Regions from separate parts of the Homo sapiens genome. Here region 1 is linked to region 2. The links are contacts of gene promoters, found by promoter capture Hi-C in human tissues and cell types (Jung and others, 2019). All regions are on one chromosome and are shown on one strand. Each heading gives the region's core, a stretch centred on a gene start or on the middle of the fragment in contact. The rest is flanking DNA. Distances are from core to core; before and after follow the strand shown.

Evidence for each region. The method cuts DNA at HindIII sites, captures the fragments that hold promoters and counts their contacts. A contact is called where the count stands out against the background at its distance.
Region 1: a contact is called between a fragment that was not itself captured here and the fragment with the promoter of PMCH in region 2, in 2 of the 25 tissues and cell types used here (lymphoblastoid cells and mesendoderm cells).

Annotation. Positions count from the first base shown.
Region 1 is chr12:102,768,390-102,771,883 of GRCh38, forward strand. No RefSeq gene overlaps it. Among named protein-coding and RNA genes, the nearest start is that of LINC00485, 54 kb to the right of the region's middle. The HindIII fragment of the contact is 9,213 bases long and covers 1-3,494 here.
Region 2 is chr12:102,195,353-102,199,144 of GRCh38, forward strand. It overlaps PMCH (pro-melanin concentrating hormone), which reads right to left and starts at 2,481. Exons shown (of 3, transcript NM_002674.4): 1 at 2,170-2,481; 2 at 1,621-1,819; 3 at 1,107-1,349. The coding sequence starts at 2,418. The coding sequence ends at 1,300. It overlaps PARPBP (PARP1 binding protein), which reads left to right. Exons shown (of 11, transcript NM_017915.5): 10 at 1-95; 11 at 599-2,168. The coding sequence ends at 939. The HindIII fragment of the contact is 16,025 bases long and covers 1-3,792 here.

The DNA.
Region 1 (3,494 bases), core at 347-2,846, 570 kb after region 2:
AAAAAAAAAAGGAAAAGGAAAAAAGAAAAAAAAAAAGAAAACCATCACTCAGGTTTTAGCTTCTCTCTCATTCCTGAGTCACTTCGTACTGCAATACTTTGTGCCTTCCTGGTGTTGCTCACATGATCAAGAACTCATTTTAACAATAGCTGCCATGTTTGAGTGCTTACAGTGTGCCAGCCATTTGTCCAAACACTTTACTGTGTAATCGTCATCAGACCTTACTAAGGAAGGTATCATCCTCAATCTCTACATGAGGAAACCAAAGCCTGGTCTACATGAGGAAACCAAAGCCTGGAGAAGTTAAGTAACTGGCTTAATATCACAGAGTTTAGTGAATGGTAGAAACAAGGTCCCAACCCAAACTGTCTGGCTCCAGAGATTGGTTGTCATATAACTTATAGACCAAGCTGCAACACTTTTGAGAGTGACACGAGATACTATTAATAATTATGCCAGGACAACAGATATAAACCAAGACTGACCTTGGCAAACCAGGACATGAGGTTGTCCAACATATTCTGCCATTTTAAATGTACTCGTTGAATGGTTACAATCTTGTGAAAAGACGACAGGCTTTACAGCCAGCCAAATTCAGGCTTAATTGAGCAGAGGCGTGAAAGTACCCAACACAGTGCCTGCTGCATGGTAGGAAATCGGTAGATACCTGTTTCCTTCTGCCAAGTTTCTAATCCTTTGCTGGGCAACATGGGCAAGTGTAACATGTAGCCCTTATTCTGGAAGCCCTTACAATAGAGTTGATAGAAAAAAGGAACATAAATGAAAACTTTTAAAGATTATTCTAAGACTTTAGTAATCCGAGGCTGAGCATAAGAGTTCAGAGATGGTGATTCTCTTAGCTTTTGAATTTTTAGGTGAGTAGAAATTTGAACTGTGTCTTGAAGACTGAGTAGAAGGCAGGAAGGTTAGAATTGGGTATAGCTAAAGAAAGACTGAGTTTATTCAGAAGTGTCTCTGTGACATAAGTTTGTCAAATATTTCAGCTCCATTCCAACCATAGTAGTATTCCAGATACAATGAAACAGGGACACACTTTTGTTGTATTTTATTTTTTCAGTGTTGTGCACTCACGAACCCCTAGAGAGCCCAGATGAGGACTTGATTCTCCCAGGCATGGAAGGACAGACAGAGAAACTTCTTAGGAGCATTGGTCTGTGGTTTTCAAGACCTTCTGTTATTTAGGAATTTTGAACAAACTCCTGCCCCCGCAATGGTTTTCACAGTAAGAGCAACAGCTGCGGGGTACTTATTCCTCCCTGATTTATGTAAAAAGGAAGAGCAACTTCATCATACTTTTTCTCAGTCCCAAGTGCGGGAAATTCTAAACAGGCTCAACACCACCCTCTAGTGTGCACAAAGGGCGGACGTGGGAATTGAAGCCTGTTCATGACAAAGGCAGATGGTGAAGACTGGAGAAGGTAGAGGGAGAGAAACATCCTTGTATCTGCAGGAAGCCCATGAATTAATATATATCCAAGTGCTCTAAGGTAAAGTACTTCTTTAATAGAAAGATCTAAGGGAGCGCTTCCAAAAGAAAGAATATAATGTTCTGTGAAATACTAATCCCACGAGATTCCGTCCGCACGCGCTCTTTTTTTTTTTTTTTTTTTTTTTTATACTTTAAGTTCTAGGGTACATGTGCACAACGTGCAGGTTTGTTACATATGTATACATGTGCCATGTTGGTGTGCTGCACCCATTAACTCGTCATTTACATTAGGTATATCTCCTAATGCTTTCCCTCCCCCCTTCCCCCACCCCACTCTTAAAGTGCCCCACGGTTAACTAAGTTTGGAATCCTCTACACATCATTACAGTCTTCTGCAAGCCCCTGTTACAGCTTCAGTGTTTAGGAAAGCTGTTGGGAAGTTATGCAGTGATGAAAAATCCACTTCCCACAAACATTTGACCCCTGAACTTTTTTTTTTTTTTTTTTTTTTTACCTCTACAAGCCCCATGTCATCCCCTAACACAACTTCTCATGGAACGTACTTTGGGCAATGCTACTAGAAAAAGTACAAATGAAGTTCTTACCTCCGGCTTCCCATTTGATGAAACAAGTCCTGTCCCATAGGCTTCGATGGCTCCACTCTGCTTGCAAAGATCAAACTCTAAAGTAAACCAATAGAGCTGATCAAGGCACAAAATGGAAAAAGAATGGAGCGGTGACTGAAACCAAATATCTAATCAACAGTGCCAAGGACTGGAAGATCCCTCAAGAGGCTGAGAGGCAACCCAGTTCTTCCCCACTTCAACCCCATCCCGATCTTCAGGCAGGACAGAGAGCCTTCGTACTGCTCTCCTAATGCATCATCCTCAGTCCCCTGGACCCCGCTTCTTTCAAAGTTCAATTATATCTGAGGCTTAGTTCAAGGGTCCTCTTCTTCAAATCTTCTCATGACTCGGGGGCCCACTGAGCATTTCCTTTCCTTCAGTTAGATCACCCTTTCGTGTATTCATTAAAAGCACATTGAACACTTACCATATGCATGATACAGTGCTGGGAAATACAGATCTGAAATAGACAAAGATCCTACCCCCCAGAGGAGCTCACAATTTCTACCACTGGAAGAGGAATGAAGAGAAGACAACGAAGGCTCAGTTCTAAGGAAGGCTTCAGCAGATGAAGATACAGTAAGTTGCGGGCACATTGCCTTGTAGAACATATCCAACAGCATTCTCACCATGATCACATCAAGTTATCAGAACACAGCCTGCCTCAGGTTAAGCACTCTATGGATGTTAGCTTTTATTTGTGTTGTTATTATCATTCTTGCTATTATGTATTACATTTATGTTGTATTACTTTTTTTCTTATTCTACTGTTCCTGTACAATAAAATTGAAGGGTAAGATGCTATCTCCACCACAAATGGTTTAGTTTGTGAAATTACTGCAATACTCAGTGATTGCTGTGATTGCTGATAAATATCAATGCCAATGACACTTTATTCCTCTCCCTGTAAAATGATGCTACCAGTAACTATCTTTTCAGATTTCATTGATTCGTCAATTTTTCTTCATTCATTGAAATAATATAAGGTTTCCATTATGTGCCAGACTCTGTGCTAAGGAAAGGGAATATAATAATAAGACAGACAAAGTCCCTGCCCTCCTGGAGTTTGCTACATCTCAGAATTGTGGAGATTTCAGTGAGATTACTTTATATGTGTGCATTTTCTGATATGAAAGGCTGGGTAAATGTAGAGTATTATTATAACTTAACAACCCACCAACACTACTGCTGTCAAGCATAGCCTCCAGTCTCTGAAATAGAGAATCTCACTGTGCTTACCTGGCACAGTGCCTGGTTTCATAGGCACCTTCAGAAATGTCTGCTTAATGAATGAATGAGTGGAAGAATTAATTAGAAACATTATTACTAAATTTCATTTTCTACATAAATAATAATCATGATGAAATGAAGGGGGGTGAATGGGAATACCTATGAATTAGTCAACTCTTGTTACATGG
Region 2 (3,792 bases), core at 1,231-3,730:
TAAAGATGACTACATGATAAGCAAGGATAATTGGAATAATGTTAATTTAGCATCAAAGCCTTTGTGTGTTCTTTACATGGAAAATGACCTTTCTGGTAATTGACCTTATTTGTGCAATTAAATAACAATTTAATTCTAGTCTACTAATTAGTTTTAACTTAAGTAAAATTAGGTTATTTTTGCAAAGTACTATGAAATGTAAAGGGTAATATTTTTAAAGACCTCAGTTTATTTAAAAAGTTAAATCTAAGTACAAATTTATCGATAGGAATAGGACACAGTTTGATTTAACTAAATGTATTTAAGAAGTAATTTGTAGCATATGTTTAAGGATTAAATGTCATGCATTCAAACAAATATTTCTTAATAGGGCTGACAAGTTGATTACTGGCCAAAGCTAACTCAGAGGTGCTATGATAAAATGAAAAGTAATAGGATAGTAATGTAGCTATATTTGTCAATCATATTATTTATAGCATTATTTTACTTTAAAAATTTGAATATTCGTTAGCCATTTTTAAAGTTTATTGTAAAGTTCTCGTAAATATTAATACTCAATATCATGTAATTCCTTTCCCCTTTTTATCTTGCATAACAGAGGGTGTAAATCCATCTGTTGGAAGATCAACAATTGGAACGAGTTTTGGAAATGTTCATCTGGACAGAAGTAAAAATGAAAAAGTATCAAGAAAATCAACCAGTCAGACAGGAAATAAAAGCTCAAAAAGGAAACAGGTGGATTTGGATGGTGAAAATATTCTCTGTGATAATAGAAATGAACCACCTCAACATAAAAATGCTAAAATACCTAAGAAATCAAATGATTCACAGAATAGATTGTACGGCAAACTAGCTAAAGTAGCAAAAAGTAATAAATGTACTGCCAAGGACAAGTTGATTTCTGGCCAGGCAAAGTTAACTCAGTTTTTTAGACTATAAATTTGTGTCTTATATGCTTTAGGTTTATGTATCTATAAACCATTCACCAAAGACATGCTTAATTTTTAAGAGATCAAGGTGTAAATTATGATGATTTATTATTTTGGTCTACAGTGTATGTAAGGTTAGTATGTTAAGCATTGTTTAAAAATACTAGTAAGTCATAATTATGCAGAATTTTCACAAAGTTTAATGCACAGAGAAAGCATATCATTTCAGTTACTGATACATCTTAACACTACTTTCTTTTAAAACAGACATTTAACATACACAAGTTATAGTAGCAGTATGGGCTTCTCCTCCCATTGGCAATTAAATGCTTTTATTTTCTTCTGAAAAGATGATGTGGACCAACAGGTATCAGACTTGCCAACAAGGTCGGTAGACTCTTCCCAGCATACATCTGAGCACTGAAGGAAGAAGAAAGTTTAAATTGTTTAAAGGACTATAATTATCACACAAAATTTATTAAGAAAAAAAGAATGGATCTAGTATAACTAATTCTGAGTAAACCAAAATGATAATAATTAATTGTTGCTATTTAATCCCACATTTTTGGCAGGTGTAATTGAGCCATGGTCTTATTTGATTTTGTTATGATTGCATCCAAATTCACTTTAACTCAGAGTTCTGTTTAATGGTGGTAGGATGTAAGAATTGAATTTTGAAAAGACTACTCACTGTCAAAATCTCTCCTTCCTATAGGAAATTTAGCTGAGTTTTCTTCATCCCCAATTTCTCTCTTTTCTTGTGTTGATTCAGTATTCTGAACTCCATTCTCAGCTGGGAAAGCTACAGATCCTTTTAGTGCAAGATAAGGTTTTATAGCCAGATTCAGTGGCAGACCATGATTTAAGAAATTATGTTTGGAGCCTGTGTTCTGTAAAGAGAAGGTTGATTTGGTTTTTAGCTATCGTATTCGGAGTGGAACTATAATACAATTGTATAATATTCTTGTTGATCAATTCAAAGTTACTCTGCACTGTTTTTGACTTTTTAAAAATACCTTAGATGCAAATTTATAGGAGAAAAAACACTTTCAGATAAGAGGTGTTTGCTGGGATGGAAGAACTACCTGGCATGTAAGAAATATCGTCAGTCGTCCTAATGCATATTGTGACTGTTTGCATATACTTCTGTTTATAAAAGTATCAGTTTTACTTTTCAGAGGATTTGTAAGAATCATTTAAATTTTCATTGAAATAAACGACAAGTCACATTGCCACTTACCTTTGAAACTTTATTTTCCTCTTCGTTCATGAAACTGCTCTCATCATTTTTATATTGTTCCAGGGAAGGAGCAATAACTGATTTTTCTGCAGTGTCTTCCTTCTGAAAGCCTTTCCCCAACCTGAATGTATTAAATACCATGTCATCATCTAAATTTCTTATGGACTTGGATGCTGAAAGTAAAATACCTTGAGAAAACAAAGAAAAAGTTAGTATTAATATATAGGAAGAGAGATTCATTTTTGCCATTCTTAGTTTGATGTTTGCATACAGTCAAACAAGAAAGAAAATGAAAAATTTCTCTGTCAGCCTGCTTGGTAAACGATTCTGTATCTTTATATATTTTCTAGCTTGAATAGAAAGCACTTCAAAGAATTATACTTTTCATCATTTTAGAAATGACTCATTAGATTGAGGCTAACCTTTATGCAGCTGCTAATACCTACATTGTTTTGGTTTTAGTGACACATTGTTTATTTTGAGTGTGAATTTTCTCAGAATCTGACTAAGATCCTTGGTAGAATGCTTTCTGTTGAGTAGATTATAGTCTCTTGAAAATGGGTTGTTATTAAGGAAGACCACAGGACATCAGGCTCTCTCTATATTATTGTTTCCTTTTGTGTATTTTCTGATTAAGTAAAGATATTAAAACTCAAGTTATTTCACTCAAGGATGATAAGGATAAAGTTTTATTTCCTTTTAATCCTGATTAAACTGAAATAATCCTCAAAAGAGACTTTCTTTTATAAATACTTGATATAGTTTTTGGTGATTAAAGTACATATGCCTGTCAGTGTGAACAAAAAGCCATTCATGCTATATCAAAAATTGACCTGTCAGGTGTATTTTATCTCTGCATTTACAAAAGGATAATATGTACAAATATTTATTAATGAATTTAGAAATTAATGAATTAGTCCATGAAAAGAATATTTATGTGCCCATAAACATTACTTTTGGATGATGAGTTTATGTTGTATGACTTTTAATTAAACATTTCAGAGTTAATTTCTAATTTTGACCCCAATGAATAAGATAATACATTCTTTTATATGTCTTCTGGTACATATATGTAAGAATTTTTCTAGAGTATATTTCTCAGTATGGAATTACTGGATCATGGAGTATGTATATGTTCAGCTTTACTAATGCCAAAATGTTTTCCAACATAGTTGTAAGCGATTTGTGCCCTCGATAAGCAGGGTATGAGAATTTCCATTGTTCCATGTCCTAGCTGACTCTTGTGTCTCATTGTCCTTTTAATTTGTATTTTCCTAATTACCAAAGAGGTTAAGTGTCTTCCCATATGTTTCTGAGCCATTTATGTTTCCTCTTATGTTAAATGCTTTTTTTTTTTTTCTTTTTTGGCTTTGTCCATTTTTCTATTGGGTTGTCTTTTTCTAATTTATTTATGGGAGTTCTTTATATATTCTGGATATTAATTGTTAGTTATATATGTTTCAATTATTTTCGCTCAGTTTGTGACATATTTTCAACCCCTCTGGTGTCTTTTGGTGAACCAAACTGATTAATTTTAATGTTTAAATATTTTTCTTTTTTCTTTATGGCAACTACTTTTAATGTGTTGTTTTTTTTTAGAAATCCTTCTCAATCCTTAGATTA